2 separate regions of the Homo sapiens genome follow, and region 1 is linked to region 2. Evidence: promoter capture Hi-C in human tissues and cell types (Jung and others, 2019). All regions are on one chromosome and are shown on one strand. Each heading gives the region's core, a stretch centred on a gene start or on the middle of the fragment in contact. The rest is flanking DNA. Distances are from core to core; before and after follow the strand shown. Region 1 holds the start of UNC5B (unc-5 netrin receptor B). Region 2 holds the start of EIF4EBP2 (eukaryotic translation initiation factor 4E binding protein 2).

Region 1 (3,188 bases), core at 351-2,850, 810 kb before region 2:
TCCATTCTCAGCCTCAACTCAGAGAGGACTCCGTGCAGGAGGCCCCGTCCCCACCTGGCTCCGGAGCCGAGCCGCCCGGCAGCCGTGGCCAGCCCACTTGCTTGGGTTCGGGTACCAGAGAGAGGCTGGCTCCATTCAGTCCACAGCCTCCCCGAGAAGACGCAGCCCAGCCAGCGACGCCGGGTCCAGCTACAGGACGAGCGAGAAACGTATTCATCCACGGCGAGAGAGGAGGGTTAGGGACTTTATTTCGGAGCCCACCAGTTCGCTGAAGTCATCTTGGTGGGTCCAGAGCGGGCGCTGTACCAAGGAGAGCGCACCTAGTCTGTTCCCCGGACAGCGAGAATGTCAGTGACCAATTTAAAAGGAAACTCCGCAGGATCGCTAAGAACCCCTACCCGCATCCAACACACACACACACACACACACACACACACACACTCTCCAACACTCAGAAAATTAATAATAATAATAATAATAATAATAATAATAATTCTTCCAGACCTGCGGGCCCAGCGATCTCGGGGAAAGCTATGTGTGCAAGACTTAGCCCTCCCCGCTTCAGGAGCCCTGCAAGCCGGCCTGCCGAGGCTACCGAAGCGCTTCCTGTGTTCAGCAGGTCTTTTCGCTCTCTCCCTCTAGTCTGCAGATTGCTGTCCCTATAGCGCGTAAGAGCCTAGGCGAGCCGGGACCAGACTAGTAAGTTACCGGCGTACGGCAGCGAGCGCACACCTTGCTTATGTAGCCAATGTTCTTTTTCGGGGCGGATGCCAGGCGCGCGGAGAGCCGGGCGTCCCCAGGAGGCGGATCCTCCCGGAGACTCAGACCCTGACTCCTACACCCCTTCCAGGGAGAAGAAGGGATCCCTTTCAGGAGCGAGCAGGGACCTTTCAGCTTACTGTGAAGCCCCTTCCCTGCTCCCCGCTCCCGCGATGTGGATGCGCCATTGCCCACTTTGGGAGGCAGTAAAATCTACATTCTAACTTGGGCGCCCTTGCCGCTTTTCCTGCGCGCATCGATGCGACGAAAGACCACCTCAACTTCAGGACAGAGTGAGGCGCAAGGGTCCCCTAGCCCCGCGCCCCCAGACCCGATCGCTTCCTACCTGCTTGGCTCAGCCTCGGGTCCCAGCAGAGCAGCAGTGCCAGCAGCAGCGCGCCCCGAGCTCCGCTCCGGGCCCCCATGCTCCCGCGGCCTGGTTCGGGCGCCTCTCCCCCAGGGCTGTCTCCCTGGCCCCAGTCTCGCCGCCGCCGTCTCCGCCGCCGCCGCCTCCTCCTCGCCGTCCTCCCCGGCGCCCGGCAGCGCCAGCCCGTGCCTTCCGTGGGGGCAGCGGAAGCCACGCTGCGCGGAGGGCCGCCTGGCACTCGGAGCGCGGTGGGTGCCTGGCGCCGGCTCTCGAACGAGGCTCCGGCGCGCCCCTCTGGCTCCGGGTCTCTGAGCGCTCGCCTGGCTCCGGCGCTGTGCCTCCGAAGTTGCGCGACCGCTCAGTGGCGCTCGCAGCGGCGGCGCCGCGCAGTCCCAGCCCCAGTGCGCGCCTCTCGGAGCCCCGCGGCTGCGTGCGGCTCCGGCGCCCTAGCCGGCCCCAGCCGCCTGCCACAATGCCGAGCGCCGCCGCTCGCTCGCCGGAGTGAGTTCGCCAACCGAGGGGACCGCGCGCGGCCGGGGCGGGGCCTGGGCGACCGAGGGCGGAGCCGACAGGGGGACCTTGAGGGGGGATCCGACGGCCATCTGGGCGCGGCCGCGGCAGAGCTGGGGGACCCGGGGGGAGGGTCCTCGCGAGACGCTGGGCGCAGCGTTTTGAAAAACCCGGCCGCTGGAGAATGGCTGGACGTGGAGGCGGCCCAATTTTCGCTCCCCCAAATTAAGGAAATCTGGCTTTGCGCCTTCATTTGGCTTGGCCATGTCAGCTTTCTCCTCTGATTAAACATAGGACTCTCACTTTTGGCTCCCCTGTCTGTAGTATGCGCTCTGCCTTCCACATGTGGGGGTCTTTCCAAAAAAAAGGCTCCCAAAATGAGAACACCCAAGTCCTGGTTACGCGGGGGCTTACAGCGATATGAAGCTGGGTATAGATTAGGATCATCCTGGCTGGCTCTGCTTGTCTGTATGATCTCCGGCAGAACTGTTAACCAGACCCCTGGAAACCCCTCCAGCACTCTGATCCTGCGTTGTTGTAAACTAGCCTCCTACCTGACAGTGGGACAGCCATTTTTGGCTCAGTGTAAACTTGGACTCTGCCCCTTATTTACTGTGTGACCTTGAACAAGTTACTTAACAATTCTATTGCTCCCTTCATCATCATCTGTAAAATGGAGGAAAAGGATAACTATTTCATAAGGGGGTATAGAATTAAATTTTAAAACTTGTGTGGAAATTGCAGTGCAAGTGTCAATAATCTCTTTCCAAGATTCTCCCCTCCCAGCCAGTCTGATTCCAGGGGGAAAGTCCTGACCACCCAAAGGTGGTCCAAGGAGCACGTGGGGACAGGTGAGGTTTGAAGGATGGGCAGTGTCTTGGGATTGAAACCCAGAGAGATCAGAACGAGCGGATCAGCTAACATAGGCAAAGACCTTCCCTGTGCCAGGCACAGGGCTAAGCACTCTGTATGCATCATGTCAGTTAATTCTCACAACCCTCTGAAGTAAGCACCATTTACATCCCATTTTACAGATGAAGGACCTGAGGCACAGAGGTGTAAAGCCACCTGCCGGAGATCACACTGCTTGGAGTGACTGAGTGACTGAGCAAAGGGGATGGGGGAGATGGGATTGGAAAGAAACCCTCTAAACGGGGGAGCCTCACTTGAACACCTTCCCTGGGGCTGGATTGGGCTGTGCGAAGGGGACTGTCCTAGCTGTTTCCCCAGAGGTGAGGTGAAGGCAGGACTAGTACCCTCTCCACACACACTCCCCTCACAAGCCGGGGTCTTGGAGTATCTAGGGGAGGTCGTGCATGCCATCAGCACATCTCCCTAACCCTCTCTGACTGGGCACCCAGCATCAGGAGGGTGGCAACAGGTGGACTGGGACTCCCTGGGGGAAGAACTTCCATCAATTGAGAAAGGCTGCTGTGGGCAAAGGTAGGTTGCTTAGCTTGGCCTCTGACAGCCCTAGCAAGGGCAGTGGATGAGACAGTCAACAGCTCAGCACACCCAAACCAACTCCACCTTGCAAATACACATGCACACA
Region 2 (3,257 bases), core at 413-2,912:
CCTGGCTGAATTTCTCTGTAAAGCTCCCTCCTAGATTTTATCCCTTGGTGTTGGCAAGAAGGTCTCCTTACTCCACAGGCCTTGCTATTGTGCAACTGATTTAAGGATGGTCCAGGCCTAACTGCATCGGATTGGTTGTAGTACAGCTCCTGAGCCCTGCCCACAGGAACAAGGCTAGCAATCCTCTAGACCGCAGGAGCTGCGAAGTCCCCACCCTCTAGCAAGAGGCCACCCCAGCACCAAAAGAAGACAAAGTTCTGAAGTTAAAAAGGAGGCCCCGTTCCCTTCAATAAGGCTCCTCAAAATCGCTTTCCAGGCTCCTCCCTCTGGAGGACAGCCCAGTTAGGGCACAGACAACCTTTGAGCTCTCTTCCCGTGACCAAGCTTCACCTCTACCCCAGTATTACTTATTTGTAAACAGTTCCTGGTCATGCTTTGAAAAGCAATGCCAGGGAACCACCCTCTCTCTGGATTGCCTCTCTCTAGCCCCTTCCACAGGATCAAGCAACCACCCCACCCAACTGGGGTGTCCTTGACAAAGGTCCTTCAATCCATTTCCAAAGGCGTCGCTGCCGAAAGACACCCTACCTTAAGGCTGTCAGCACCCTACCACCCCCACCTACTTTCCCTTGGCTATTACTTGAGCTTTATTTTATCACGCTCTCCTCCCGGCCTGGGGACTCCCCTCACCCGTGGGGCCTCGTCCAGCAAAGTAAACAATGCTGTCAAAGCGGGATAACGCTGGGCGAGGCTTCCAGACTCCGCATTCCAGCCTCCTCCCGGTGTTCTAAAAGCAGCAAAAACAAGCCATCGCAGGATGCCAGGGCCGAATTCCTCTCCCAAAGTTCTTTTTTAAAAAGCCCCGGAGCCAGCTCCAAAATCAAGCATTAATTTGCACAATCTACGACAGGCAATGCAGACTGTAATGCAAGGCCAAGTGGAGCCAAATCCGCCCGGGAAGGAGGCAGAGAGGAGAGAGAGAACTGGGTCGAATGCGTAAGCCTGCCACGAAGCGGAAACAAGAGCTCTTTTTCGCGACAGGACAGCCACATTCCCGAGTGGGGCGCGCGCCGACTCGAGCTGCGGGCAAGAGCGAACACGAAGTAAAGGGTCCCGAACGCTCGGGCGGGCCCAAGGGCAGCGTCCCCGGGGCTTCGGTGGAGCTGGGGGCGGGGGCGAAGCGGCCGGGCACCGAGGCGCCGAGGAGTTAGAGGACCGCGGCGGGACACCGGGCGCGGCGGACGGCTGGCCGGCGCTCACCTCCCGGTGTGGTGGAGAAGAGCGTCCCCCCGGGCGTGGTGCAATAGTCATGAGGTAGCTGCGCGGCGTCGCTGATGGCCACGGTGCGGGTGGGGATGGCGCGGCTCTGGCTGGGCTGGTGGCCGCTGCCGGCTGACGAGGACATGGCTGTGGGCGCGGGCTCTCGGCTTTGTCCGGCGGGCAGGCGGCGGCGGCGGGGCCGGGGCTGCTTCGGCTCCTCAGGCGGACGGAAAAGCGCGCTCTGCGCGCTCCTCGCTCGCTTCCTCCCGTTCCCTCGTCCCGCTCCGCTCCCGCCGCCGCCCTCTCAGCCGCCGCCGCCGCCGCCGCTCGATCCTCCGGCCTCAGCCAGCAGCCTCAGGAGCAACAGCAGCGGCAGCAGCGGCGACGACGACGACCGGAAGCGGGCGAAGGCGGGAGCCAGAGGGAGTTGGGGAAGCTGGTCGGCCGGAGGTGACGTCGCCGCGGGGCGGGGCGAGGCAGTGAGGGGCGTGGCTGAAGTTGTTGAAGGGGGCGGGGACGAGGGGCAGGGCTGAGGAAGAGAGTGGCTTAACCCCAGCGAGCGGGAGAAGAGCCAGAGGGAGCGCGAGCTAAGTGTTTGTGAGCCTGGTGAAGGCGGACAAGGAAAACTTTCTTCTTATTGTTTGTCATTGTCGGTTAACACCACTTTACTTGAGCAGACTTGAGTTTCTCATGCATTCCTATGCATTAAAAATGTAATTTTACTTTTAATTGTTCATTATTAATTCAGGCACTACATGCACGATGTACTGTATTTTAAAAATCAAACAGAGCAGAAAGGTTTATGGTGCCACTTTCTCCCAGTTTCCGAACTCCCCTCAACCGCTGTACCAGTTAATTGTGTATCCTTCCAAAGACCATCACTATATACACACATAAAGCAAGATCTAAACATTAGGAAAAGGAAGAAACCAAGAGCCACTCATGGCAACAAGAATGAGTATTATTGTATTAGAGTTAAAATGAGGCACAGGAGAGGGCTTAGACCATGAGGTACCTGAAAAATCTAGATCTGGAACTCTATTCTTTCCTCGAGGGGTTCTCAAACTTTGGGTCTCAGTACCTCTACATTCTTGAAAATTATTGAGGATTTCCAAGAGCTTTTGTTTGTGTGGATTATATGTATTGATAATTATTGTATTAGAAATTAAAACTGAGCCGCTGCTGATCACTAGTGGGATTGTACCTGTGAATAGCCACTGCATTCCGGCCTGGGCAACAGAGTGAGGCCCTGTCTCTAAAAAACAACAACAACAACAACAACAAAAAACAAATTAAAACTGAGAATGTTTTAAATGTTTATTAATTCATAAAATAATAACCTATTACATGTTGACATTATATTTTTTAATTATCTAAAACAAATAGTGAGAACAGTGGCATTATTTTATATTTTTGCAAACGCTTTAATATCTGGCTTAATAGAAAACAGCTGTATTCTCATATCTGTTTCTGTGTTCAAGCTGTTGTAATGTGTTGATTCAACTATATGAAGAAAACCCAGCCTCACACAGGTATGTAGTTAGAAAAGAAGGTTGTCTCAGATCCCCGAGGGGCTCTCCAGATCACACTTTGAGAACCGCTGCACTAGGGCAGCACTACTTCTGCCCACAACATGCCCAAGGTGGGACTGGGAAGACACTCATGGGTAAGGCCAACATAGCTACCATCATTCCCATTTTGCAAATGAGAGAAATAAGGGTAAGAGAGGTTGAGGGGAAAACAGCTATTGCTTCACTGCTCAGAGGGTCAAACAGGTGCTTGGCAAGAACATAGACAAAAGAACTTACAACAGCCCAGGGCAGGCCAGGGCATTACATGGTACTGATTTTGTGGTGAGTGCCCCAAGAATCCAGAAAAAAAAGTCCCCTGCCTGTCCTGCCATCTGGAAGCTGCCAGAGTTGCAGAGGGCTGAGTTTAACCTTGAAAGACTCTGAGACTTTGGACATGCCAACAGAGACACTTCTAGTGGAAGGAAA

What was found. Contacts are between HindIII fragments. The study calls those that stand out against the background at their distance.
Region 1: the fragment with the promoter of UNC5B here is called in contact with the fragment with the promoter of EIF4EBP2 in region 2 in 2 of the 25 tissues and cell types used here (heart right ventricle and liver).

The regions. Positions count from the first base shown.
Region 1 is chr10:71,210,982-71,214,169 of GRCh38, reverse strand. It overlaps UNC5B (unc-5 netrin receptor B), which reads right to left and starts at 1,600. Exons shown (of 17, transcript NM_170744.5): 1 at 1,106-1,600. The coding sequence starts at 1,184. RefSeq lists a silencer at 1,440-1,699 and an enhancer at 1,544-1,838. The HindIII fragment of the contact is 13,648 bases long and covers 1-3,188 here.
Region 2 is chr10:70,402,550-70,405,806 of GRCh38, reverse strand. EIF4EBP2 (eukaryotic translation initiation factor 4E binding protein 2) reads right to left here and starts at 1,662. Exons shown (of 3, transcript NM_004096.5): 1 at 1,261-1,662. The coding sequence starts at 1,405. RefSeq lists silencers at 1,361-1,570, 1,601-1,790. The HindIII fragment of the contact is 23,735 bases long and covers 1-3,257 here.